Linked DNA regions of Homo sapiens: regions 1, 2, 3, 4 and 6 are each linked to region 5. Evidence: promoter capture Hi-C in 16 types of primary human blood cells and fetal thymus (Javierre and others, 2016). All regions are on one chromosome and are shown on one strand. The core of a region is centred on a gene start or on the middle of the fragment in contact, and the rest is flanking DNA. Distances in the headings are between cores, read along the strand shown. Region 1 overlaps GMDS (GDP-mannose 4,6-dehydratase). Region 2 overlaps GMDS (GDP-mannose 4,6-dehydratase). Region 3 has its middle 28 kb from the start of LINC02521. Region 4 has its middle 160 kb from the start of LINC02521. Region 5 holds the start of FOXC1 (forkhead box C1). Region 6 overlaps GMDS (GDP-mannose 4,6-dehydratase).

Region 1 (4,108 bases), core at 300-2,799, 630 kb before region 5:
CAAATTGATGTGTGGATTACAAATGATGATTATATTATAATAAGGCCTATCACTGTTCCTGGCATGTAGTGTTTATGAAGTGATAGTTCTTATTTATTATGAATAAGTTCTCACAGTGGGAAGGAATGAGAGAAGGATGGAGAAGTGCTTGGGAATGCAGTTAGGGGTATGTAGGATGAATGAGAATAGTAAAAGTATGAGGATAATGAGATCAAGGATGCAAATGCATTTTGGTGACAGGTTGGATGGTAATAGTATGGCCAGAAATGCAACCACTGGGAAGGAAAATCAGTTTTCTGGGGGAAGACAGTGAATTATTTTGTTCCTCTGGAGTTTGAAGTGCAGTGGTGCAATCATAGCTCGCTGCAGCTTTGAACTCCTGGGCTCAGGTGATCCTCCTGCTTCAGCCTCCCTGGTAGCTGCCACCAAGCCTGACTGATTTTTTTACTATTTTTTTTTTTTTTTTGTAGAGACAGGATCTCACCAGCTGACCAGGCTAGTCTTGAACTCCTGGCCTCAAGCAATCCTCTGGTCTTGGCCTCCCAAGTGCTGATAATACAGGTGTGAGCCACTGCACCTGGCCTCTTTGTCTTAAAAATGACTTAAAAGTGCTCAGAGGTGGCTGCTGTAGAGTGGGCAAGTCCTAAAGGTGGCCATGCTGCTGTGCTGTACCTTTAGCCAGTCTTCTTCCCTGTCTCCCAGAACTTTCTGTAGCTCTTACTTAGAAGGCATGAAAATTAACACTTTCCCTTTAGTTTCATGATTGATGTTAACCAGGCTATTCTTAGTATATTTCAGTTTTCTCCTTTCTTTCTCCTTTATTTATTTGTTGATTATTTGCATTTCCTAATGTTAAAGATACTTCCAGGCGGGGCGAGGTGGCTCATGCCTGTAATCCCAACACTTTGGGAGGCCAAGGTGGGTAGATCACCTGAGGCCAGGAGTTCAAGACTACCCTGGCCAACGTGGAGAAACCCCATCTCTACTAAAAATACAAAAATTAGCCTGGCATGGTGGTGGGCGCCTGGAATCTCAAGTACTCGGGAGGCTGAGGCAGGAGAATCGCTTGAACCCGGGAGGCAGAGCTTGCAGTGAGCCGAGATCATACCACTGTACTCCAGCCTGGGTGACAGAGCGAGACTTTGTCTCAAAAAAAAAAAAAAAAAAAAAGGTACTTCCAAACTTCCAATTTACAATTTCTCATGCTTTTCTTCCTTTCTTGAGGAATTTTGGGAATCTCACACTTCCAGAAGTAAGGTGCTCAGTTGCATTAACCATTCCTGTATAAGCTTAATACATAGGAAATGAGTGAGTAAAACATGTCTGAAAGGTAATCCTATAGGATAGAAAGCTGATTATCAGTAATGTTCTTGGCAGTGGGGCACCAATGTGCCAAACCTAGTCTTTGGCAAGCTAGTAAGCAATTTTCCTGCCAAAATCTTGTGACTTACCATAAGTAGTAACCCAATTGTTTATATAAATTTACTCATTGAAATGACTCAGCTTTCCAGGATATTATTTTGGCATTTACTTATGTAGAATTGAGTTACATAGACTTGAGGTTAGATGATTTTATATGCAGTGACGTTCTTGGCTGAAGGGTATTTACTTCATTTGTTTCAGACTGTTCATACTGTGCCTTTTAAACAATTTACCACATGTGATTCTAGGGGAATCCTTTCTCAGATCTTCATACTAAGTTCTTTTAAACTTAAGAGTGAAAAAATAAAGGTATTTACTAGGGATTTATAGAAAGTATTTCTTTATACTGACTAATTACACTTGGGAAAATGAACCACCAAAGCTTGGTTGTATTATATATATATTATGCTTGAGCATTTGGTTTGATTGTAATGTGAAATGAATTGCTTGATCATGTTTAACAAAAATATGTTCCTTAATGCTGAGTGAAAAAGCCTCTAATTGGCACTTTTAGAAATCTTTTAAAATCAAAACATGATTTTTCTATGTTTCTTAGAATGGTACTGTATTTCTATCACTTTTCACAAAAGTTAGATTTTTAGTATTGCTTTATTCGAACTATATTTTTACATCGGTTCTTTAAAAATGATGAATTGGAATTTTGCAAGTATATGCAGACACTAGTAGTATTTTTTGGTGATCAATATTGATAAACGTGTTTATTGTAGTTTACAGTGGAATCCTTCAAAATGGAAGCTTTGTTGCAAGAGACCTGCAGGACAAAATGCAAGTGTGGCATATATGCTTGTTGGAGTAAACCCAGTCAAGGAGAAAGACAGCAGAAACCCTGTTTGTCAAGAATTGTGGGAGGCCTGAGATTTTACCTTACTTGCAGGCTAACAAGTTAGCTTCTTAAAATTCCACGGATGATGGCAGAAGACACAGCACTCCTGGGTCAGCAGGCAGTATGAACTTCATGTTTGTGACAGCTCTGTTTGTATAGTATTTTCTTGCCCCTCAAAGACCATGTGGGTAACACGGTGGCTGGGTGGGTCTAGGTGGATGTTGCCCATGCAGTGGGTATGCACCACAGTTGAGAAAATCTGAGATTGGGAAACCCCAATTTTTTATAAGGGAACTAATAATCCTGCCCAGCCTTTGCTTTGAGGGAGACATTATTTTTATTATTCTGCATAGCAAACAAATCTTCCATCTGCTCCAGAGAGAAACACTATTGCTATCTTAAAATGCTATCTACAGATGTCCTGTACAGGAAAGATAGTAGCCAATAAAAGCTGTCAGTGCAATCTGCTCATAAGACATGCAGAAACTGGAGAGACCCATAGAGAACTGGCTCCCAACACCATTTGTTTGCCTTGTTCCTGAAACTTACCAGATTGGCAACACAGACCAGTTTTCCTCTTTTTTTTTTTTTCTTATTTTTTTTATTTTTTTTTATTTTCCAGAAAGGGTCTTGCTCAGGCTGGAGTGCAGCAGTGCAAACACAGATCACTGGAGCCTCAACCTCCTGGGCTCAAGCGATCCTTTGGCCTCAGCCTCCCGAGAAGCTGGGATCACAGATGTGCACCACTATGCCTGGCTAATTTTTGTATTTTTTTTTTTTGTTAAGATGGGGTCTTGCCGTGCTGCTCAGGCTGGTTTCAAACTCCTTGGCTCAAGCAATTCTACCATCTCAACCTCTCCAAGTGCTGGTATTGCAGGTGTCAGCCACTGTGCCTGGCCCCAGTTTTCCTCTTATGTCTCCATGCAGACTATGGGGAGCTCCAGCTTTGCATTTGTTTTCTTTTTGCTTGAAGAACAAAATGATAAGACCTGGATTTGGGTGCTTAGTATGGAATGAATTAGGCATTGTCCCTGGGGGAGGCATTTTATATTTCCCTGTATGTATAGGCATGGGAAGTATAGTAGGTTTGATTTTGTTGGAATGTTTAGTAAGTTTAATCTGATAGATTAGTCTCAGTTGGCCTGAAGAAGTCTAGCTCAGAAGGACATTTTTCCAGCCCTGAAGAAGAATATGCCTGCTTCCCCATCACCCCTAAGGGGATGATTCTAACTCTGTTGGCTGTGGCACCTTTGTGTACACGTATCATCACTTGTTTTTTTGTTTTTTTGTTTTTTTTGAGATGGAGTTTTGCTCTTGTTGCCCAGGCTGGAGTGCAATGGCATAATCTTGGTTCACAGCAACCTCCACCTCCCAGGTTCAAGCGATTCTCCTGCCTCAGCCTCCAGAGTACCTGGGATTACAGGCATGTGCCACCACGCCCGGCTAATTTTCTATTTTTAGTAGAGACGGGGTTTCTCCATGTTGGTCAGGCTGGTCTCGAACTCCAGACCTCAGGTGATCCGCCCACCTTGGCCTCCCAGAGTGCTGGGATTACAGGTCCTCACTTGTTTTTAATTTACTCACTGAGTGACCGTAAACTTCTTGCATTAATTTCAATGCTTTCTCTTTTTTTGCTTTAAAATTGTACCTGATGTAAACTCTCATACCTTCATTTAGAGATTACTCCTATCATTTTTGAGAATGTTTCTCTGGTGTCTACCATATGCTAATAGGGCCTGCCCTCGAGGTCAGAAAATTTATGTCTTTTCAAATCTTGTAAGTTTGCTAGGATTTTATTTTTTTTATTTTTTTTGATACGGAGTTTCGCTCTTATTGCCCAGG
Region 2 (4,602 bases), core at 287-2,786, 610 kb before region 5:
TGGTAATTGCGTCTATTACAGTATTCCCCCTTTGCTGTGAGTATTCTTAAATTGCCTAACAGAATCAGTATGCCTCAAGGACCAAGCTTCTATTGTTTACATTCACCAGTGCTTAAGCACCTGATGAGTACCCAATAATTGTGTAATGAGGCACCGAATGAATGGAGACATTTGGGCCAAAGGGTCGGAGATAAGCAGTGAGAATGGAAGCAGTTGAGGGAGAAAGCAGAGGTTTTGGAGCCATTTGGAATTGGAGGAATCCCATTCACTGCACCAGGGTGTGGTCTCTAACCCCAGGAGAGCATTTTAGACGCCTAGGGAAAGCAGCTCTGCAGTCAGATTGACAGGATCGGAGTAAACCTCTGAGAAGCTCCAAAACTCAATCCCAGATCATACTTCTTACAGTGAGTGCTGGTCTAATGATTTCCATAGAATTTGCATCGTAATTTGGTGACAGTGTGTAAAAGCTGTCATTATCAGACTTCAGCATACTAGTCGCTTCCAGCTAATCACCTCCATGCAGGGGAGCCTAGACTGAAACATTGTTGCTTTTCATTATTTTGGAGAATAATTTAGGTAGAATTACTGTTTAATTTTTGTATTTCCTATTTAAGAAAACCTGTTTCTTTACGGCCCTTTGACTTTCATTTTCTCTTTTTCTTCCCACTGACCTGGCGGCTTCTTAAAGGGGCAGCACCAAGTTTCCTGTTGCCCCTGTGGGCAGTGGCCACAGATTGTCTTCTTTTTCTTCTTTTATACCCCATGGCACATTCTGAGAGTATTTTCTTTTTTCGTTGTTGTTTGTTTTCTTTTTGCTTGGGACTGCTATAATGTGAATATGATATTCTCATTAATTCATTTACTCATGTTGCAAAATTCACTAAAATCCCTTTGTTAAAAGAACATTTTAAGGCCGGGCATGGTGGCTCACTCCTGTAATCCCAGCACTTTGGGAGGCCGAGGCAGTCGGATCACGAGGTCAGGATATGGAGACCATCCTAGCTAACACGGTGAAACCCCGTCTCTACTAAAAATACAAAAAATTAGCCGGTCGTGGTGGCGGGTGCCTGTAGTCCCAGCTACTCTGGAGGCTGAGGCAGGAGAATGGTGTGAACCCGGGAGGCCGGGAGGCGGAGCTTGCAGTGAGCCGAGATTGCGCCACCGCACTCTAGCCTGGGTGACAGAGCAAGACTCCGTCTCAAAAAAAAAAAGAACATTTTAGATGACACTACTTTAAGTAATGTAATATTGTGTTTAAGGGAGCTTGATTAAAATAATAAAATGCAATTGAAGTCAAAACAGATGGATAAATCATGATATTACAAGTGAGAACTGGAATTCTACGTGAAGCCAGGAATAAAGCTGAGAGGTAATCTTTGAGCCACAATTTTGTGTTTTTTTGTTTATTTGTTTGAGATTGGGTGTTGCTTCTTGCTCTGTTGCCTAGGCTGGAGTACAGTGGCTCCTGTAACCTCAAACTCTTAGATTCAAGCAATCCTCCCACCTCAGTCTCCTGAGGAGTACATTACTTGTGGTAATGTACTACAGGTGTACATTACCATGCCTGGCTAATTAAAAAATTTCTGTATAGACGGGGTCTTGCTGTATTCCCCACGCTGGTTGTGAACTCCTAATCTCAAGTGATCTTCCCACGTTGGCCTCCCCAAATGCTTGGATTCCAGGTGTGAACCACTGTGCCTGAGCTTGTACATCCCTTCTTAGAAGGCCACAGCTTTATTACCATTATCAAACAGGGACATACAAGTACAGGTTGAGTATCCCTTATCTGAAGTGCTTGGGAGCACAAGTGTTTCAGATTTTTTTTTTTTCCGATTTTGAAATATTTTCATATACGTAGAGAAATGTATATACAAATCTTGGGGGTGGGACCCAAGTTTAAACATGAAATTTGTTTATCTTCATATATACCTTAAACACATAGCCCGAAGGTAATTTTATACAACACATTAAGTAATTTTATGTGTGTAGCAAAGTTTGTGTACATTGAACTGTCAGAAAGTGAAGGTGACTCTATCTGAGCCACCCATGTGGACAGTCTGTAGTTGTCTGGCATCCCCATCCTTCTTGAGGCTGAATTTATATGCTACGTATAAGCAATTATTGTCTCACATCTATTCACATTAAAGCACTTAACAGTAAAAAATATGACATGCCATTATTACAGCGAGAAAATAAGTGTCAGGGTAACCAAGCAGCACAGAGCATCACCAGACATCTGTACCAGCTGCTAAACCACAGCAACAGCACACAGCAGCAGGCTTTCCGTCTCCATCTGTGAGGCCTTGTGTTGACTAAAAGGTTACCGTACCTGTATCTTGTGTTTGGTGGGTGAAAAGAAACATCAGAAGTATTGAAGGACCGGGAAATTGAGTCCTCTAGGGATAAGGAGGCGTTCTGCTGGATGGCTTTTAAAGATGTTTCCTCCGGAGTCATCTGCCTCATTAGCCATGATTTTTGTCTTACAAGTCTTTGATTTTATACACTGACAGGATTTCATGTTTTATTGTGAATGCACACTGCCCTAGCCCTTGAATAAGCCCTTCACACATTTTCAACATGTTGTCTCTGGGCACTTTTTCTGCAGTGTTGACATCATCTTCATTGTCACCATTATAGGTTGAATATCCCTTATCTGAAATGCTTGGGACCAGAGGGGTGGAATTTTCCACTTCTGGTGCCATGTTGACACTAAAAAAGTTTTGGATTTGGGGACATTTTGGATTTTCAGATTAGGGATGCTTAACCTGTAGTTGTATAATTTATGACATTTGAAGAAAACGGAAGTGACCCGGCTGCTCAGGAGCAATATTCATGATACTGAAATCAGAGGGAATTTTTTTTTAAAGTTTCTGGTTTAAGTTGGTGCCCAGGAGGTGTGGTCTTTTAACTGGTGTGGTCGGTGCTCTGTTTGTTACTGGTCTGTGACAAGGTAAGTACAGAAAATGAGAGTAAATTTAGAAGCTTTTATAGCAAGTTCCTGAGACATTTACATCTAATCATTTTTTTTTAGTAACTCACCTTCAGTTGTATTTTACAAAAGAACCAGTTCATGATGGATTAGAAATTTAAAATGAGGATGCTGACAATAACTAGTTCTTTACTGCAGACAGTTTGAGAAGCACTGGTTTAGAGGATCCTGTGTAAAGTGATTACGAATATCGTCCATATAGTAAGTTCTATGTTGTCTTCTCACTTAACAGGATGCACTGTTGGCTGATGGCCTAATGACAGCATGCTCTTCAGCCAAACTGGTTCTGTAGGACTCAAGTTTCTACCCTCTCTATCATCTGGCTTCTATTTAGATTTTGCTTTATTTCCAAATTTTTATTTATCTTCTGGGTAGGTAATATATTCAGCTAATTTAAAATATAAAGATGCAAATGGGTATTCAGGTGAGTCGTCCTATGCCTGTCCGCCACCTCCCCATTTCCTCTTCTCAGAGGACCGACCTGTTGCCTGTTTACTTTCTTTTTTTGTTTTTCACACAGGGTCTTGCTCTGTCGCCCAGGCTGGAGTACAGTGGTATGATCGTAGCTCACTTCAGCCTTGACCTCCTGGGCTCAAGCGGTCCTCCCTCCTCAACCTCCCAAGTAGCCAGAACTCAGGCCTGAATCACTGTGCCCAGCCTATTTATTTATTAAGAGATTTTTAAAGAAATTCCTAATGCTTAGAATCTGTGAAAAAGCACAGGTGTTAGGTTAGCTCTTGGAACCTTGTGACCCTGAATAAACTTTAGCCTCTACAAACCTCAGTTTCATAATGTATAGAATGAAGATAATTAACTCTAATTTCAGGGTTGTTGGCACGTAACATAGCTCTCAATAAATGATCTGGTGATTGTAATCTGAAATACTTTAGAATGCACATTAAGATATATAGAAGATTCATAATTACAATTGTGCATATTAAATATATTTAATAATTATTTGGGAAAGATAAAAATTAAGATAATGTTCTGTACTCTCTGAGGTGAATTTTTAAAAATTGCTTATTTTCCATTGCAAGATGTAAAAGTGTGGTATCATAGTATATTTGCAAAAGTGAATCACTACTTTCTGGCAAAGACAGAGTGTCTTAGTCCAAGAAACAATATAAGGTGAAAAATTTTGTAATTTACGGATGATCTGATCTAACTGGTTTGTCCTAATTTTTCACTTCCGGTGGTCAAAGATATCTTCATCCCTTGTTTAAAACTTAGAAGGGAGGCAATTTCTGTGGACTTGAGGTGGAGAAAGATGGGGTTCCTTTTTGCTGTTTACTGCCTTGCTTTTCTTTCACCTGTGCATTTCCAGAGGTGAGTCTGGGTGTTGTCTTGGTATTCAGATGAGTTCATCGTAATCCTCAACTTTCTTCTCTTTCTTTTCCTCTTTTTCTCTGAGGTGTTCGCTCCAACTCTGCATATGTTACAAAAAGGGGAGTAAGTGAGAAAATGGTCAGGCTTGGGGTGGTGCTGGGGAAGCAGTGAGGAAAGGTGGTGAGGAGGTTTGGAAGGCGTTTTGGGGCTTAGGGGTACCCCCACAGGTGATCGTGAATACTCACTTGACAAACCACTTGTCAGCTCATTTGGAGCCCGAGAGCAGT
Region 3 (4,605 bases), core at 755-3,254, 1.0 Mb before region 5:
GAATAATATTGCCCCTGCTGTTGCCCCAGATTTTCTAGTGCCATGCTACATATACAGTAAATCAGTCAGACATTAGGTTGATAATTCCCATGGGCAGGCAGGCAGGCAGTCTCTTCCATTCACTGCTGTACCCCTAGCACAGTAAAGGGCACATGGTACACCCTTGACAAACCAATAAACGACTAGAGACATGGGTACTCCATGAGCACATACAAAGAGACTACTAGGTCACAGAGCTGTGTGATGAGCTCTGGGTTCTAAGCCAATTTTTACTGGATGCCAAAACAATCATTCCGTTTAATCAAAAACTCAGCTAAGTAAATAAAGTAGCTTTGGATGATAACTCAAAGTATAAAATAAATAACCACGAACTCATACGGATATCAACAAATGATTGAAAAAATAAATGAATTGAAGAAAAGAGACAAATGTTCTGTGCAGAAAATTTCAAATAATTTCTGTAGATACTCTGCCCTCAAGGATGGGGAGTATTAACTCCCCACCCCATAAATGTGGGCTGCAGATAATGACTTCCTTCCAAAGAGCACAGTATGGAAAGTGGGGACATAGAGGAACTTTTCCTCTAGGTGAATGTATTTGTCGAATAAATTTTTGGAAAAAGAAGTTTGGGTCAAAGGGCATTTGCATTTATAATTTTAGTAGGTATTGCCAAATTCCCATAGAAATTGAAACCAATATATGTTCCCATCAGCTTTTTTTTTTTTTTTTTTTTTTTGAGATGGAGTTTCATTCTGTTGCCAGGCTGGAGTGCAGTGGCATGATCTCGGCTCACTGCAACCTCCACCTCCCGGGTTCAAGCGATTCTCCTGTCTCAGCTTCCCAAGTAGCTGGGACTACAGGTGTGCACCACCACGCTCAGCTAATTTTTGTATTTTTAGTAGAGGTGGGATTTCACCATGTTAGATAGGATAGTCTCGATCTCTTGACCTCATCATGAGCCCGCCTTGGCCTCCCAAAGTGCTGGGCCCTTCAGCTTTTAATAAATGTCTTTCCTCTACTCCATTGCCACCAGCATATTAACCTGTTAGGTTTGTTTTTTTTTTTTAAACAACCTGGGAGTTGGAAAATGAAATCTCAGTATAGTTTAATTTGCATTTTAATTATCATGAGTGAGGCTGAGTATCTTCTCACCTATCTAAACTTCTGTGATCTTGTCTGGAAAGTGTCATTTTCCCAATAGTTGGTCTTTTTTCAATTGACTGTGGGAGCTATTTAGGTATCAGGTATTCTTTGACGTTGTATGAATTAACAAGTACTTTCCCCATTTGTTGCCTTACAAAGGCCACTATAACATGGAATTTAGATGTATTGCCAACTGACTGTGTTGGATCCATTTAAACACTTTGTTTTTATAATTAAAAGCCGTTGGTAACACATACTGTTTCATCTCCTGAAATGACTTGAAGAACCATATATTGAGATATAAATATAAATGTTATTTTGATTCTTTTGGTAGCAAATAAGTAGGATTCACCCCCCCACCCTGCTCTATTTTGTAGAAGTTTTATTAAATGCCTATAATCCTATTCATTAATTATAAAAATAGAATAACAGATAAATTTAAATATTTGCTCTACATAAACCTATTTTGAATACTCTGGCAAGATCTAAAGCTTGTTTACTAAAAAGCCTTGGTAAAACCAACAAATTATACATACCTCATGAATATAGTTTTCAAGAGTTTTTTGCTCCACAAAAAAAGATCTGCTATTAGGATTTAATAAAATTTTACTGAAAAATATATACTGCCCTTTCTGGGATTAAGCAAGCACCTGGCTGCTGGCTGACACTTCAGGGGACATCAGCATCAGCTCTGTTCTCCGATGTTGTGTGTGGCTGGGCCTCCACCCCAGAGCTTTGCAGATACACAGTTCAACAGCGATGTTCCCAGTAGCTCGACACCAGAAAGGGACAGTGATGGGGCCTGTTCCGTCACATCACGGCATCTCACCTGCCCTCCTGCTCTCTACCTGCATCGAGGAGTCTCAGAGAATCCCACATGACATGAACCTTGAAGCCTCAGGGGTAGGCCCTCCAGCCCCTGAGCAGAGGCCGCAGAGTTAACGTTTTGAAAGTGGTTTTCTGTTGCTAAAAAATGTGTGGTTTATCACAGCCCTAAAAAATGTCCAATGATTGGGATTATCCCCCTTCTCCTTTCCTGTGTGCCTTCAATTAGCTGAATGAAAGCAAACCCGTGGCTTTAGAACCTGAAATAGCTGGAGAAAAGTGATGCAGATTTCAGGCGAGATGAAAGAGTGGAACCCAGAAGCCTAATTAAAAGCAACTGAGAAACCAGTATTTGATACGGCGTTCACTCACCTGAAAAAATAAACCAAGAGCTCCAGCAAGCTTTGCTGGAGGGTTGTCGGAGAGGGGCTGAGACGTTGCACTCAGGTCACAGGAAGGCCCGACTCGCAGGACACAGAGCCTCACTATTTCTTTCCTCTTGGAGTCAGGGGAAGGTCAGCCAGCCCGCCGAGGCCACCAGCCCGGCCTGCTTGACAATAGCCAGTTAGCCAGCAAAACTTTCCTCCAAGGTGGCAAGGGTGACAGCTATCCATCCCCAAACGCATTGCTTTTTTAAAAATCTTGAAATGTGCATGATTTGTTCAACATCACTTTCCCCCTGATTTTCCCTGCTTCTTTTTCTTCTCACACTTCTCTTCCTCCTGCTTTTACTACTCCCCATGTCATCTTTCTTAAATGCAGGGCATTTCTGTACATTCAGCTTATGGTTTGTTTTTGATGGCAGAAACTATCAAGGACTCACTGAAAGAATTAGTCCTCCTTTACCAAGAGGAAAATTCTCTTGGTTTTGAGATAAATCAAGGCCCAAGGTCAGTCAAGGGAGGAAATAAATAAATGAGCCTCTCTTTCATACATTGCATATTTTTAAACCTACAAATCAGCCCCCCGAATGGAATGCTGGCATATAAAAGCAGCATTTGGGATCCCGCTAAATGCAACTGCCATCACGTCCAAGATTTTAGTTGGAGGCAAGAAAAAGGACTTAATTTTAATTGCTGGGGGAGACGTCCTTCATTCTTTTCCTTTCCAAGTTTGATATTCATGACCTTGGGTAGGATGGGAGGTGGGGAATGTGGAAAGATGGATATGGGGTCGCGGTGGTTTTATTACTGTAAGTAACTGAAACAACAGCCCCGTTTTTGGAACAGTCTGTTCAGGAAGCAGAGACTAGATGCTTCCCCCTCAGTGGGGTCACAGTTGGCTTTTCTTGACTTCACGCGTTGTCGGATGGGATCCACAGTGAACTGAGGTTATCAACACCGAATAGCAGCTACCATTTCACATTGCAGGATGCACTTCAGAAACCACACACCAGCGCGAGGATCTCACATGGACATTACTGTTGTTATCTCTTAAATGCTTTGGGAACACCAAGGACCTCTCACTTTGTTGGGTATTGTAGAGAGGTTTTATAGGAAGTGATGAAAATATGGCCTTTGTCTGTAAGGAGTCAACCATCTTAAAGTAACATGTTTATATAAACACAAACATTCACCGTTGTTCCCAGAGTTCACTTAGGTTGGTCATCTTCCTTCCTTCCCTTCCTTCCTTCCCTTCCCTTCCCTTCCCTCCTTCCCTCCCTCCCTCCCTTCCTTCATTCCTTCCCTCCTTCCTTCCTTCCTCCTTCCCTCTTTCCTACTGTTTCTCTGCCTCTCTGTGTATTTTCTTCTTTTCTTTTCTTTCTTTCTTTCTTTCTTTCTTTCTTTCTTTCTTTCTTTCTTTCTTTCTTTCTTCCTTTCTTTCTTTCTTCTTTCTTCCTTTCTTCTCTCTTCTCTTTGTGTCTCTCTCTTTCTCTTTGCCTCTCCTTCCCTCCCTCCTTCCTTCCTTCCTTCTTTCTTTCTTCTTCTCTTTCTTTCTTTCTTTTCTCCTCCATTCTGCTTCTATCTTTCCTGACCTGGTTTCCCATCATGAAACTTCTCTGCCTTAAGCTTAGGGCCAGCATTTAAAGATCACCCTCTGTACAGTACAAGAGGCTATTTGCTTTGCCAAATGATTTCTTGCTTCTGTTTACTTTGGGGACCTCACAGACAGATTTAATCAATTGCATTTATCAGTATAATCTGTTCAAGGCTCCTCTCCTGCTGTATTGTTTTCCCTTTTACCCCTGATTTCCTGGCTATCCCCCTGCTTCTACCCCCAGACCCAGTGTAAGGTGTTTTATACAAGTCCTCAAATAACCAAATAATCATGGATTTTTTTACATAACATATTGGGCTGTTTTGTATGTGTATGTGCTTTAATTTACATAAAGGGCATTATGGTGTACATTGCATTCTTTTTCTTACTTTTCCCACACGTTCTGTCCATGTTGATGCAGAGAACATCACAGTGCACACAGGCCACATGGGCCTCTGCCGTCACTCCACATGCATGGCAGTGGCTGGCTATGGGAAGGGACTTCCTTCTAGAGAGACAAGATGGAGAAATCAGAATTATTGGTCCCAATTGGGCCAGCTACATAAAACAGCAGGTGATATGAGGGCAATCTGTGTAATTTTTTTTTTTTTTTTTTTGAGACAGAGTCTCGCTCTGTTGCCCAGGCTGGAGCGCAGTGGT
Region 4 (4,432 bases), core at 220-2,719, 860 kb before region 5:
CCTCAAACTGTGTGGCTTAAAGTAATGGTAATGTATCCTCTCACTGTTCTTGAGGCCAGAAGTCTTGATCCAGGTGTTTGCTGGTCTGTTCCTTCCAGAGGCCCTGAGGGATCCTCTGTGCTGGGCCTCTCTCTCGGCTCCTGATGCTGCAGCAATGCTGGGCATTCCTTGGCTTGCAAAGCATCCCCTGATGGCTGCCTGTGTTCACATGGTGTTCTCTGTGTGTGTGTGTGTGTGTGTGTGTGTGTGTGTGTGTGCGCGCGTCCAAGCTTTCTTCTCTTGTAAGGACACTAGTCATGTAGGATTTAGAGGCCACCCTACTCCAGTATGGCCTCATCTTAACTTGATTACGTCTACAAAGACCCTGTTTCCAAATAAGGCCACATTCACAGATTCCAAGTAGACATAAATTTGAGGTTGGACAGCGGCGGGGAGAGGCATTGCTTTTCAACCCTTTACACCCCCTACATGATTTTTCTCCATGACCTTAAGATGAAGTATGAATTCTCCTCCTACATAGATGTCCAGGGGCATAATTTTTGCTGTTATAAAGGGAACCCAGATGTATGTAATGAGTCTTGGGATGGAGCGAGAATGTGAGTTAGGAGAAAAGAGGCTCTTGTCCCTTCTCTGATATGCGTAGCTCTTGTCATAACTTAGGAGGGAAGAGAACTAGGGGAGGACACTTAGAGGACAGCTACTGCTAACGTTGGCCAAGGTCTTATAGTACAGTGAAGTAACTAGCTTATAAACCCTGAGGCAGCAATGTCCACAAAATGGGGAATTCCAGCTGCTTATAACCAGAGAGAAAAGGCTGTCCCATGTTTTAGGGCTAATGAACGCTTGCCAATGGCCTATTTCCAGGCAGCCCGGAGCACCTGACTGGCAGGAGAGTAGAGCACCTGTGGAGATCCATGCACAGACACACAGCCATGGAAGCTGTGGAAATCTTTCCACTTTGCTCTGTGATGCACATTTTATGTCTGTCATGCATTCTGTCTGTGAGTTTCTCTTTTTTTCCGGGGTGCCTACAGCAGGACCTCACCCCAGACAATGGCAGGATGGCCTGGAGATGGGAAGGGAGGAAAGGCCATCCTATTCCATGAGCAGCATTCCCAGTGGTGCCGCACAAGCCAGGCCATAGCAACAACTGGAAACCTTCTCCTGGAGACCTGGGGAAGGGTCCAGCTCACACAAAGCCTAACTACTACCATCACCCGACCTCAGATCTCTGTGCCACCATGATCTAGTACACCAGAATCTGCAGGGCCAGGTGAAGTTGGCGCAGCTTTTGGTTAACAGCGATGCAAATGGGACTTCAGATTCAGATGACTGTTGAATCCAATAAAGAGAAAATTGGGAAGTCTCCATTTATTGCTTACATTTTTATTCCGTAAAAAGTCAACTCAGATGACTCAGTCCAAAGGAAACCTATTATCGTGTGTGCTTGGAAATGCCCAAATTCACTCTATAATTTTTAAATTCACTCTATATTTTAACATTTGGTTCATGACTAAAGGAGCTTCAGGTTTTGAAGGCAATTACCTTCACAGCATATCAGCTATAGCTAATGATAAATATCCATTCTCAGCTCAATTCAGGGCAGGGTATATTTTCAGAAAATGGCTCTTTTAAAAGTATAACTGAAAAGCAGTGGTCAGGTTAGGCCTACTTAGTGTTTAATTAGGACATGGTTGCCTCCTTAGAAACCCTAAAAAAGAGGACCTTTGAGGCACAGGTTGCTTCTGTAAGCATTGCACATGGATCAGAACCGAATTATTTTCTGTTTCAAAAACAGCTTTTGCCAAGGGAAGGTGCTGCCTGGAGCCACGCTGAGACTGACACGCCCTATCGACTCTTTTGTTCTGACTTTCCAACACACTCATCTCTTCGCCTTGGGTTTGCTCAGCTGGCCACGAGCACGTGCTGAGTGCAGGCTAAAGTTCAGGAGAGGATTCACAGAAACATCAGAGAGGTAAACATGAGAAAGAAACGAGGAAATTCAAATTGCGCTGAATATGCCACCCATCTGTCATTAATTTTGAGTGGAGTTGCAGCTCACCCACAGGGTAGCTTCTCATATCAGAACATAAGAGGGAAATAGGGCATCACCTTGAACCATCCTCAGAATGCCCCACGTGGACATGCCCTTCGTCATTTCCTTCATTGGTAGAAGTGTTGGCTGCTTCTATGGTTGAACACCAAATGAAGGTGTTGCCTGGGTTTAGAGGCCATTTCTCTTTAAGCCCTAGGCTCACACTCAGCGCATGGGATGTTTATGCCATAAGTGCGTGGATGTTTATGCCACTTGTGGCTGATGAGCGGCACGGCACCTGCAGAGCCCCCAGCCCTGCTTCACTCCAGGACACACAGTGAAGCATGAGAGTGTGTAATCAACCACAGCATTTAACATTTTTTTTATTTTTGCAGAACACGTAAGGTTGAATTCATAGAAGTGAAATGTAATTTTGATATAACTCCACTCAATTTCAAACCGACATGCACATCTCAGGGGTGATACATAAAACATGTATGATAATTTTCCATATTTATGTAGTTAGTATGTAATTAATAGCTAAGTAGTTAAAGCAGTTACATGTGCTGGGCCTGTGCATTTCATGGAAAATGAATGAACAGACTCATTTATGGTAATTGGTTGAATAAGCTTCGGAGTGGCAGAAACACATCTAAAATTAAGACTAATGAACATAAATAAATCATTTGTTTTATGATGGCTCAATCTATAGGCTATAAATGATAAACTTTGAAAGATATGTTTTATATCTTTATACATGTTTTATAAAAGATTATATTACTGCAAGTTGGAGACAAGCAAGAACCAAATAAGTGCTATCAGCCTGAAATGCTGGAACTAATCAAGCATTGAAGACAGGGAGGTGAATAGATTTCTTGCTGTTCCTGGATACTGAGCTATAAAGTGAACTCTAACACAATTTCTAATGGACTATTTTCATACACCAAACAAATAATAAATTGTGATCCATGGAGCAAGTCCAGCAAAAGCTTCTAGCAAATAACAATTAAAAGAATAGAAGGCTTATTGATTACTATGGAGTTATTTATTTTAAAATATTGCCATCTTAAAGCAACATATTACTAAATTATGGATGATTTTTAACAAATTCCTCATTTAAAAAGATGGAAAGCTCTGGGAAGCCTCATGATCTTTATAGAATTCTCTGTCCCCCAAAGGCATGGGAGAGCTAAACTCTGGAGTAGACATTTCCTTAACCAGTCTTAGCAATTCTTGCTTCCTCTCCCCCAAGAAACTCTCCCCTTTCTCTGATGGAGGAGAACAATACAAATTTCCTTAGAATCGACAGGCTATGCCTTAGAAGCCACAATAGCTTGTGAGATCCAGCTGACCTATATTGGGTAGAAAAACCCACAACTGAAATGAAACAAAATTCTTCCTTGAATCTACAATATTGGAGCTTTACTCTGGAAAGAGATAAAATGACCAAAACTTTCCCGATGTGCCTCCTTCACCTGGGCTTCCCATCCTGAGGAAGTAGCTGGAGTGAGCTGGGCCTGGCAGGTCTCAGCACAGCCACCCCAGGAAGAGCGTGTCCTCCTGCATCTTCGCCCGGCTCAGCCAGGTGAGGAGCCAGTCCACATCTGAGGCCGTATCATTTACCCAAAAAAGAAGAAATGCAGTGCATTTCCCCAAGAATGGGCTGTTTGGGAGCAAATCCAATTTGTCATAGAAATAGCCTGCATGGATCAGTGCAGGATGGTCAGCTTGTCAGAGATGCAACCAGCTACTCATGATCCATCCTGAAGTCAATTATAACCCCTAGAATCTAGCAGAGTAGATCACCACAGCCCCATTTTGCACACACACATGCACACGTACACACACGTCCACATGCAGGCACAGACATGCACACACACACGTCCACAGGCATGCACAGACATGCACACATGCACGCACATGCACGCACACATGCATGGATGCACAGACTCCCAAGCACATTCCCCGCTCTGCTTCCTGCCCAGGTACAGGTGTGGCTCTGTCCACATGGTCCCCACTGCTCCCACGTCCCACAGCATAAATGCACGCCCAGGTGTGTGGAGACTCCTGGTGCAGGGGAAGTGAAAACACATGCTCCTCACACATGAAGCACTAATTTCCAGCTGTGGGCAAAGGTGAGTACAGCAAGGCCACTGCCAGCCTCCCCGCAGCACCCACTGGGATCCCTCCATTCTGCTCTGGGACTTTGCTGGGATGCCCACCAGCTCTGCAGGGCAGGCTATGCATGCAAGGGCCGCGTAAACAGATGCCCACAAAAACTGGGTCCATCAAGACCACCAGTCTTGTTTTCCCTCTGAACCAGCCAGAAGTTTAAGTCAAGTCACCCTAGGGGAGCAAGTGCCCAACCGTCGCATCCACTGTGACAATAGTGCCACA
Region 5 (4,239 bases), core at 1,187-3,686:
TTGTTTATTTAGACAAGGCAAAGTGGAGGTGGCTCTGAATTAATCGGTTAAGAAAATAGAGTTTTCTTCGTGCTGGTGCTGGTGAGCTGAATTTTTGGAGGGATATTCTGTTCGCTGGTGTGGTGAATATTCTCAGGGGTTTTTTTTAATTGGATTTTTTTTTTTTAGTTTCGATTTTGCCTTGATGGGTTCCTTTAGCTTTTCCTGCTTTGGGGTTCGATTTAGTTCGGCTTTGAGGGTGTGTCAAAACTTGCTACAGTCGTAGACGAAAGCTCCGGACGTGCGGTACAGAGACTGGCTGGAAGGGAAGGCCATTTGACAGCTACTATTCCCGTTCACTGGAGAGTTGTTCAAGCCGATCCTCTGTGACTCGAACATCTCCCGCACCGAGTGGAAGTTCTGCTGCTGGCCCGGGTAGCCTGCGGCCGCCGCCGCCGCCGCCGCGCTCGCCAAGTGGCCCAGGTCTCCGCCCGCCTGGTTCAGGTACCACGAGGTGAGGCGGCCTTGGTGGGCCGCAGGGTGGTGGCCGGCCTCCTGGCCTCCCCCGCCGCCGCCGCCGCCGCCGCCGTGACTCAGGGACGACGAGCTGCTGCTGGTGACCGGAGGCAGAGAGTAGTCGGGCAGGGGGTCGTCCACGGCCGAGCCGCCCGCGCCCCCGGGCGCGCCCTGCAAGTGGCCCCCGCGCTCGCCGGCCGCGTACAGGCTCATGGCTTGCAGGTTGCAGTGGTAGGTCCCGGCGCCGCCCGCGCCCCCCGCGGCCCCCGCGCCGCCGCCGCCGCCGCCCGAGCTGCCCGCGCTGGAGGTCTGGCTGCAGGGGGAGCTGTAGAGGGAGCTCTGGCCGGGCGAGTAGGCGCCGAGCGCCAGCGGGGGTGCGATCCCCGCGCGCGAGGACGCGGCCGCCGAGGCCAGAAGGCCGGAGCTGAGCTCCGCGGCCGCGCTCTGCGGCGACCCCCGCAGCGACGTCATGATGTTGTCCACGCTGAAGCCCTGGCTATGGTGCGGCGGCGGGGCGGAGGGCGCGGGCGGCGGCGGCGCGGAATCCGCACCGTCCAGGCTGAGCGGCCGCGCCGACGGCAGGCTGCCCGGGGGGCTGCTCCCGCTGGACAGGCTGCTGCTGCTGCTGTCGGGGCTCTCGATCTTGGGCACCGCGGCGGCGCTGCCGCTGCCCAGGGCGGCGGCCGGGGACAGGGGCTGGGGCGGCGAGGGGCACGTACCGTTCTCGGTCTTGATGTCCTGGATGCGCACGGGCGGCGGCTGCGGACCGGGCGCGTTGCCGTCGGCCTGCTCCGGCGGCGCGGGCGGGGGCTGGCGGCCGGGCGGGGGCGGCTCCTTGAGGTGCAGCCTGTCCTTCTCCTCCTTGTCCTTCACCGCGTCCTTCTTCTTGAAGCGCCGCCGCCGCCGCAGGAAGCTGCCGTTCTCGAACATGTTGTAGGAGTCCGGGTCCAGCGTCCAGTAGCTGCCCTTGCCCGGCTTCTTGTCGTCGCGCGGCACCTTGACGAAGCACTCGTTGAGCGAGAGGTTGTGGCGGATGCTGTTCTGCCAGCCCTGCTTGTTGTCCCGGTAGAAGGGGAAGCGGTCCATGATGAACTGGTAGATGCCGTTCAGGGTGATCTTCTTGTCCGGGGCGTTCTGGATGGCCATGGTGATGAGCGCGATGTAGCTATAGGGCGGCTTCACCATGTCCTTGGGCTGCGGCTGCGGCGTGTAGGGCCCGTAGGCGCGGGCCATGCCGCCCGGGTACTGCTCGGCGTGCGCAGGGTGCGAGTACACGCTCATGGGGGCCGGCATGGCGGTGTAGCCGCCCCCGGCCGCCGCGGCCGCCGCGCGGTAGTAGCTCTGCTCGCCGCCGAGGTAGGGCACCACTCCCAGGGAGTTGGGGCTGGACACGGAGTAGCGCGCCTGCATGGCCCCCGCTCGCCGCCGCCCCGCGCCGCCCGCCGCCCCCCACCCTCGCTCGGGCCGGGCCGCGCCGCGCCGGCCGCCGAGTCCGAGTCCGGGCCCGGCCGAGCTGGTGCCGGCCCGCTGCGCTGTGCGTCCGGCTGCGCTGCCGCCTCTCCCGGCGCTCGCTGGGGCTGGCTCCTCCGGCGCCTCGGGCTACCTCGGGGCCCGCGCGGCCGCGAGGCGGGGTCGCTGCGAGGGGAGAAGGCCGGGCCCGGCCGCGGCAGACCGCCTTGCAGGAACTCGCGGCGCAGCTTCCAGGCGCAAACGGGGGAAAGCAGACAAAAAGAAAGAACAAGCAGGCGCCCTTCTCGCCACACTGCCTGCGCCTTCCAGGAGACTCTGCCCTGAGCTGCCGGCGAAGGCGGCCAAATAACCAGGGCGGGGGGGGGGGGGGCCGCGCGCCGGCCGCCTGCCCGGGCCCCGCGTCACCTTTTCTCGGTCTCTCGCGCGCCAGCCGCTTAAGGAAGCATTGGGAAAACTTCTGAACTTTTGAGCATCCGTCACCCAGGCGAGGACTTTTTTACGCAGTTACACTTTTTTCCGGGCAGCGGAGCCCCGCCCCGCCAGCGGCGGCAGCCAATGGGAGGTGAGAACCGCCTCCGAATGAGCCGGAGGCCGAGCCCTGCCGGCCCGCTCCCGGAGGCCGGAGGACCGCGGGGCTGACCACACGCGCGCCGGCCGCCCTGGCCCGGGCCCCGGCCCTGCGCCCGCGCCGGCGCCCGGCCCGCCGTCGGTTCGCCCCCCGCAGTCCACCTGCCTGCCGCCGGCGCCCGGCAGACCTCCCACCCCGGGCCCTCCGGACCCACGCCCGCCGTTCGCGCAGACTTCCTGGGTCCTCCCGGGACCCCGTGCAGACCCTTCCTTCGCCCACGGCTCCCGAGTGGCCCTGGCGTCTCCGCCCCGCCTCGTGCTGGCTCGCTCTCATTCCTTCGCCAGCCCCGCCGACGCCAGCGCTGGGGTTGCCCCAGCCTCTCCTCCCCGCCGCCTCTCCCCTCCCGCAGCCCCTTCCCTCCCTTCTCCAACGCCAGTCTCACTCGGGTCACTGACGTCTCCGGCTTTTCTCCACTTGGAGGTTCTCCTGTCCTGAACTCGGCTACAAAGGACATGATTTTGAGGGCTCGGTCACAGCCAGGCCCTGCTCGCGGTGGGGAAGAAGGTTCGTCGCCCATCTGGCCCCCCTCCATGACCCCTCCCCAGCCGAAATGAAGGCAAGGGGTGCGGGGCCCTGCTGGGAGTTTCCGACGGCCGTTCACCCGCGAAGGATGAGCCCGCCCCGCTGCGGGCCGCCCTGCTTCTCGCCCCCCTCCCCGGGGGGCCGGCCCTTGGCGGCCTGAGGGTGCGGGCGGCGAGGGCTGCCGGAGCCCGGCTGCTGCCCCGCGCTCCCCTGCCCGCCCGCGAGGGTCCCACCGGCTCGCCGCGCCGCCGCCCCCTCTGATCCCGTCAGGCCCGTTTCGGCTCAGATGAGGGGTCAGGCTGCGGGCTCGGTGACATTAGCAGGTGTGATGACAAGAAGCAAATAAATATGTCTAAGAGCTTAACGCTTCCCCAGGCCAGTCTCCATCTCCACATGCGCGGGGCTGCCGGCTCGCAGAGACAACGGGTGTGTCTGGGGGAACGTCCAGGGTCGCACCTAGAGGGCGGTTCAAGGATTCTGGGGGGACACGCACGGAAGGGCCCCCGCTCGTTGTGCACACGCCTGAGATTCGCCGTCGCTGGGTGGTTGGAATGGGACAGGAAGAAGAGAAATGAGGGAAAGAAACGAAGGAGCGGGAAAGAGCCAGGCCTCCCTCCCCCGGCACGGCGATTCTGCATTTTAGCGACTTGAGGAGAGACCCTCCCGGAGGCTGAATCCCAAGTCGTTCACTAGAAGCTGGGGGAAGTGGCGAGCTCAGGAGACTGCGAAGAAGCGTGCGTGACGCATTTAACAGCTCCGCTGCCCCTGATTTCCGACCATCTATTAAATCCAAGGACATGTTCGGGACCCCTTTTGTCTCCCCGGTTCGAATCCCGGCTTCCTCACGTTGGCAGGAAAATTCAAATTGCAGCTTCGGCTGTTACATGTGAAGGACGCTGACGTGTAGCAGGCGCATCTCCGTGTCACCTGAATATTTAAAAATTACTGTTTCATAATGGACATTGACATCGAAGGAAAGAGGACCTGCCTCTTCTAGAATTAGCCTTTGGAGGAGGGAGGGTTGCCCCGAGGTTGCTCTGAATCCCGGGGCAGCTGCCTCCTGGCCTGCTGTGCGCCGGGGTCTCTGGAGACTCCTTTTCCAGGTGGTTTGCGGGCCAAGTCAC
Region 6 (4,369 bases), core at 442-2,941, 560 kb before region 5:
ATCTTGGACTTCCTAGGCTCCAAATCTGTGAGAAAGAAGAGAACTAGGCACCTAGTTTATGGTATTTTGTTATAGCAGACCGAATGGGCCAAGAAAATGTTAAACAAATTACTTACATTCTGTCTCTGTCCTGTCTTCCTTTTTTGTTGTTATTCTTTTAATCTTTTGAATATGTGTACAGACTCATCACTCCATTTTATTAAGCTCCTCAGACCACTGAAAGTTGTGTGACAATGCCATAAGCTTTACTCTTAAGATTAAGAAGCACAGACTCCTGAATTCAAGTTCATGAGTTCCTGAATTCATTTACCAATGTGTATTTGCAATTTTTGGTACTATGATTTGGATTGACAGATATTTAAAGGTAGTAATTTTTTTCAGTCTGATACATACTTGTTTTTAGAGTATTTTTTTTTTCTTTTGGAGACGGAGTCTCACTCTTTTGCCCAGGCTGGAGTGCAGTGGTGCAATCTCGGCTCACCACAAGCTCTGCCTCCTGGGTTCATGCCATTCTCCTGCCTCAGCCTCCCGAGTAGCTGGGACTACAGGCGCCCGCCACTGCACCTGGCTAATTTTTTGTATTTTTAGTAGAGATGGGGTTTCACCGTGTTAGTCAGGATGGTCTCGATCTCCTGACCTCGTGATCCACCCGCCTCGGCCTCCCAAAGTGCTGGGATTACAGGCGTGAACCACCGCGCCTGGCCTGTTTTTAGAGTTTTAACTTCTAAAAAAGGTAACCAAATGGGTTAGTCTGTAATGTAATTATGCCTTTTTTTTTTTTATTTTTTTTTAAGGCAGGGTCACACTCTGTCACCCAGGCTGGAATGCAGTGGTGCAGTCATAGCCCACTGCAACCTTGAACTCCTGGGCTCAAGTGATCCTCCCACGTCAGCCTCCTGAGTAGCTAGGACTATAGGTGTGCACCACTATGCCCATCTAATTTTTATTTTTTTCTGTAGAGGTAGGGTCTTGCTGTGTTGCTCAGGCTGGTCTCGAACTCCTGGCCTCAAGATATCCTCCTGTCTTGGCCTTCCAAAATGTTTAGATTATAGGTATGAGCTAGTACACCTGGCCTAATTGTGCTTCTATTTAGTTTAGAACATATGGTAACAAGGATAATGGATTTAAACCAATCTGTAAGTAATAACATTCTCTTAAAATTGCATGGAGAAAGTCGAATCCTGTTTTCTTTCTTTCTCTCTTTTTTTTTTTTTGAGATGTAGTTTCGTTGTTGTTGCCCAGGCTGGAGTGCAATGGCACGATCTTGGCTCACCACAACCTCCACCTCCCGGGTTCAAGCGATTCTCCTGCCTCAGGCTCCCGAGTAGCTGGGATTACAGGCATCTGCCACCACGCCTGGCTGATTTTGTATTTTTAATAGAGATGGGGTTTCTTTATGTTGGTCAGGCTGGTCGTGAACTCCCGACCTCAGGTGATCGGCCCACCTTGGCCTCCCAAAGTGCTGGGATTACAGGCGTGAGCCACCGCGCCCAGCCAGTCCTCTTTTCTAATATACCACCAGATAGCACCTTCTGAATCAGCCCAGCACCCTTAAAGCAGTAATTGATAGTCAGGGCTTGCCAGCTGAACACGTAACTGAGTTCTCTCTGGATCTGTGTTTTGAATCAGTATTTGAGGATGGTGTTCTGCTGTAGGAGTTGTGTAAGTTAAAAGTCTCAGATCCTGGCAAATATTTTATGAAATCAAAGGGAAAAATAAGTTATTCTTCTGATGGCCTCTGTTTTCCCAGAAAACTTAAAATTATATTGCCTTTTTTTTTGTTTTTTTTTTTTTTTGCTGCCTGGTGGCTTTAAACTATTCTTGCTCTGTTGCCCAGGCTGGAGTGCAGTGATGTGATCTCAGCTCACTGCAACCTCTGCATCCTTGGTTCAATCGATTCTCCAGCTCCAGCCTCCTGAGTAGCTGGGATTACAGGTGCTTGCCACCACACCCAGCTAATTTTTGTGTTCTGAGTAGAGACGAGGGTCTTACCATGTTGGCCAAGCTGGTCTCGAACTCCTGGCCTCAGGTGTTCCTCCCACCTTGGCCTCCCAAAGTGCTGGGATTACAGGCGTGAGCCACCATACTGTTATATGTAGTGTTGTTGAAGGAACTCTTTCTTATGAAGATTTTTCAACTGGTTTTAATATCAAATGGACTTTTAAGTATTTTTGTAATAACGATATTAATAACTTCTGTTTCATTATTAGGTTTTTCAAAGTGCCTTCCAGTTCTTAATTTGTCCCTGACTCATGTTGGGTGAATTTAACACCTTCTGATGTTTAAGGTTATCCTAGATACTAAGAATGTGGGAGAATTTTAGTTTTTTTTCCCTCTGGAAAGATGACTGTGGAGTCTAAAATAAAGTCTACAAATTCTCTCTGAATCCTAGTATCTTTATTCAAGTGTTCTTTCTACCTATGACTTTAAACTTTCAGTATTTACATGATACGGTCTTGGTTATATAATCATATCTTGTCAGTGTAATATATCCAGATAGAATTTTAAATACCAGTGGAGTTTTTTGTTCTTTGTTGGCTGTAAGGACTTAGAAATACATCAAAATTGAGAGCAGACTTTTTTATTCTAAATATTCAGAAGTGGAGTTCCTTTTAATAATTTTGACCTTGCTTACAATACTTGTATTAAATTTATGTTTAGAAACAGAGTCCTTATTTGGCATCTACTTTGCCCCATTTTAAGAGTTTCTTTTAAAAGAAGCAGTTGATGTGTTCTGACTGGTATTTGAAGAATTTAACTGATTCATTTAACTTCAGAAAGTACAGCAAAGAAAAGAAAAAGCATAGTAGAAATCTAAATTTGTGGTTTATGAAATGGAAGCATAGTTAGGGTCTTTTCTACAGTGTATCCTCTCTCAATGTATAAATACACTGTCTTAGTTATTTAATATTGATTTGTGGTGATGTAGGCTAAAGGCTGCCATCTGACATTCATATCATGTAAGATTTTCTTGCCTCACATTCTGAGGCCCACATTTTGTTTGTAGGGAAGTGACCTTTTGCTTTGCTCCTTGTTTCTTCTACTCATGGATCTCAGGCCTTAAAGTGGTGCGCATGAAGCTGTCCGGTATCAAGGTAGTTTTGGTTTTGGATGCTGTTGTTGGTAAAGAACAAGCTTCACGCTCACCCTTCCCTGCAGTTTGCAGACCCTCAGAGAGCTAAGGAGGGAAATGGAAAGAATTGGAGCATGACTGTTGCTAACACATCTTTCCTTCTGAGGAAGGAAGGGAAAGAGCAGGCAAATGTAGAAACAATAAAGATGGAAGGGGCACCCTTAGAGAAGTTTGTACCTCCTCAGTGTAGGGGCATGAAATGACACCCACAAAGAAGAGCCATGGTATTGTCTTGCTTTCTGCCTCAGTATTGGCTAACTTTCACTTTAAAGGAATTTTTAAAATTGGTAGGACATAATAAATGCTTCAATGAAGGCACCTTAGTCATCCAGCCATTTGTTCGCTTATTTAAGCAGTACTTATTGACTGCCTGCTGTGTGAATCCGGTTGTTTCACTAGGCATTGAAGGTACAAGAGGAATGTTGTTCCCATGGAATTAATACCAGTATATATATACGATTTAGTGGAGTGGGATGTTGCCGAAATGGAAGTCTGTGTAACTTGTGATGGGAGCAAGGAGGTAAGAGCAGCCAGAGGAATTATCAGAGGAGGATTGGCTTGGGCTGGGTTTTTTTCAGGCAGGCTAGCTGGGGGCAGGCATTTTAGGAAGAAGCTGCATGTAAAGACAGGAAAGGGCATATTACGTGTGAGGGTGGGGGAAGATGCATGGCAAGAGATTAGGTGGAATCATAAGGGCATCGTATGTCTTCTGGTAGAATTAAGGTTTATGGGGGACCTGTAAAGTTGAAGAGGTTTTGACTCTGATGAGATTTGAATTTTGAAAGATCATTCTGCTAGCTTTTAGATCATTCTGGTAGATGATGTTCTGGTAGACAATGAATTGGAGAGGGAAATGAAACTGCAGGTGTGATGACCAGTAAGGAAACTAGTATACTAGTTGAGATTAGGGATGATGAGGAGCTAGATGAGGCAGTATAGATAAAACAAAGAAAATGGGTGTGGTAAGTATCAAGAAGACAGAATAGATAGAATGTATTGACTAATTGGTGGGTATAGAGGAGACATCTAGGATGACTTTCCCATTTTGCCTTAAGTGACTGGGTGAGTATTAGCACCCATATCTTCCTGGTTAACCAAGTGAAATGCTACGAAAAGTTTAAGGAAGACAAGGTCTGAAAAAATGTCCACTGAATTAGGTATCTAGGAAGTCATTGGTGAATTTACTGAAATGGGAAAGTGTAATGATTCAGTCACAGTTTAAAATTGCTTGGGAGA

Evidence for each region. The method cuts DNA at HindIII sites, captures the fragments that hold promoters and counts their contacts. A CHiCAGO score of 5 or more calls a contact.
Region 1: a contact is called between a fragment that was not itself captured here and the fragment with the promoter of FOXC1 in region 5, in 3 of 17 cell types (total B cells, monocytes and fetal thymus). The highest score is 5.9, in total B cells.
Region 2: a contact is called between a fragment that was not itself captured here and the fragment with the promoter of FOXC1 in region 5, in 2 of 17 cell types (total B cells and naive CD8 T cells). The highest score is 9.9, in total B cells.
Region 3: a fragment that was not itself captured here is called in contact with the fragment with the promoter of FOXC1 in region 5 in 1 of 17 cell types (total CD8 T cells); the score reaches 6.8 in total CD8 T cells.
Region 4: a fragment that was not itself captured here is called in contact with the fragment with the promoter of FOXC1 in region 5 in 2 of 17 cell types (neutrophils and erythroblasts); the score reaches 5.4 in neutrophils.
Region 6: a contact is called between a fragment that was not itself captured here and the fragment with the promoter of FOXC1 in region 5, in 2 of 17 cell types (M1 macrophages and naive CD8 T cells). The highest score is 5.4, in M1 macrophages.

Annotation. Positions count from the first base shown.
Region 1 is chr6:2,234,581-2,238,688 of GRCh38, reverse strand. The region is part of intron 1 of GMDS (GDP-mannose 4,6-dehydratase); the gene reads left to right. Among named protein-coding and RNA genes, the nearest start is that of GMDS, 9.0 kb to the left of the region's middle. The HindIII fragment of the contact is 515 bases long and covers 1,292-1,806 here.
Region 2 is chr6:2,217,997-2,222,598 of GRCh38, reverse strand. All of the region lies in intron 1 of GMDS (GDP-mannose 4,6-dehydratase), which reads left to right. Among named protein-coding and RNA genes, the nearest start is that of GMDS, 25 kb to the left of the region's middle. RefSeq lists enhancers at 1-421, 588-657. The HindIII fragment of the contact is 2,896 bases long and covers 89-2,984 here.
Region 3 is chr6:2,604,336-2,608,940 of GRCh38, reverse strand. No RefSeq gene overlaps it. Among named protein-coding and RNA genes, the nearest start is that of LINC02521, 28 kb to the left of the region's middle. The HindIII fragment of the contact is 736 bases long and covers 1,637-2,372 here.
Region 4 is chr6:2,469,147-2,473,578 of GRCh38, reverse strand. No RefSeq gene overlaps it. Among named protein-coding and RNA genes, the nearest start is that of LINC02521, 160 kb to the left of the region's middle. The HindIII fragment of the contact is 2,396 bases long and covers 272-2,667 here.
Region 5 is chr6:1,608,112-1,612,350 of GRCh38, reverse strand. It overlaps FOXC1 (forkhead box C1), which reads right to left and starts at 2,436. Exons shown (of 1, transcript NM_001453.3): 1 at 1-2,436. The coding sequence starts at 1,905. The coding sequence ends at 244. RefSeq lists an enhancer at 1,579-1,678 and a silencer at 2,009-2,628. The HindIII fragment of the contact is 8,300 bases long and covers 1-4,239 here.
Region 6 is chr6:2,167,049-2,171,417 of GRCh38, reverse strand. The region is part of intron 1 of GMDS (GDP-mannose 4,6-dehydratase); the gene reads left to right. Among named protein-coding and RNA genes, the nearest start is that of GMDS, 76 kb to the left of the region's middle. The HindIII fragment of the contact is 2,892 bases long and covers 246-3,137 here.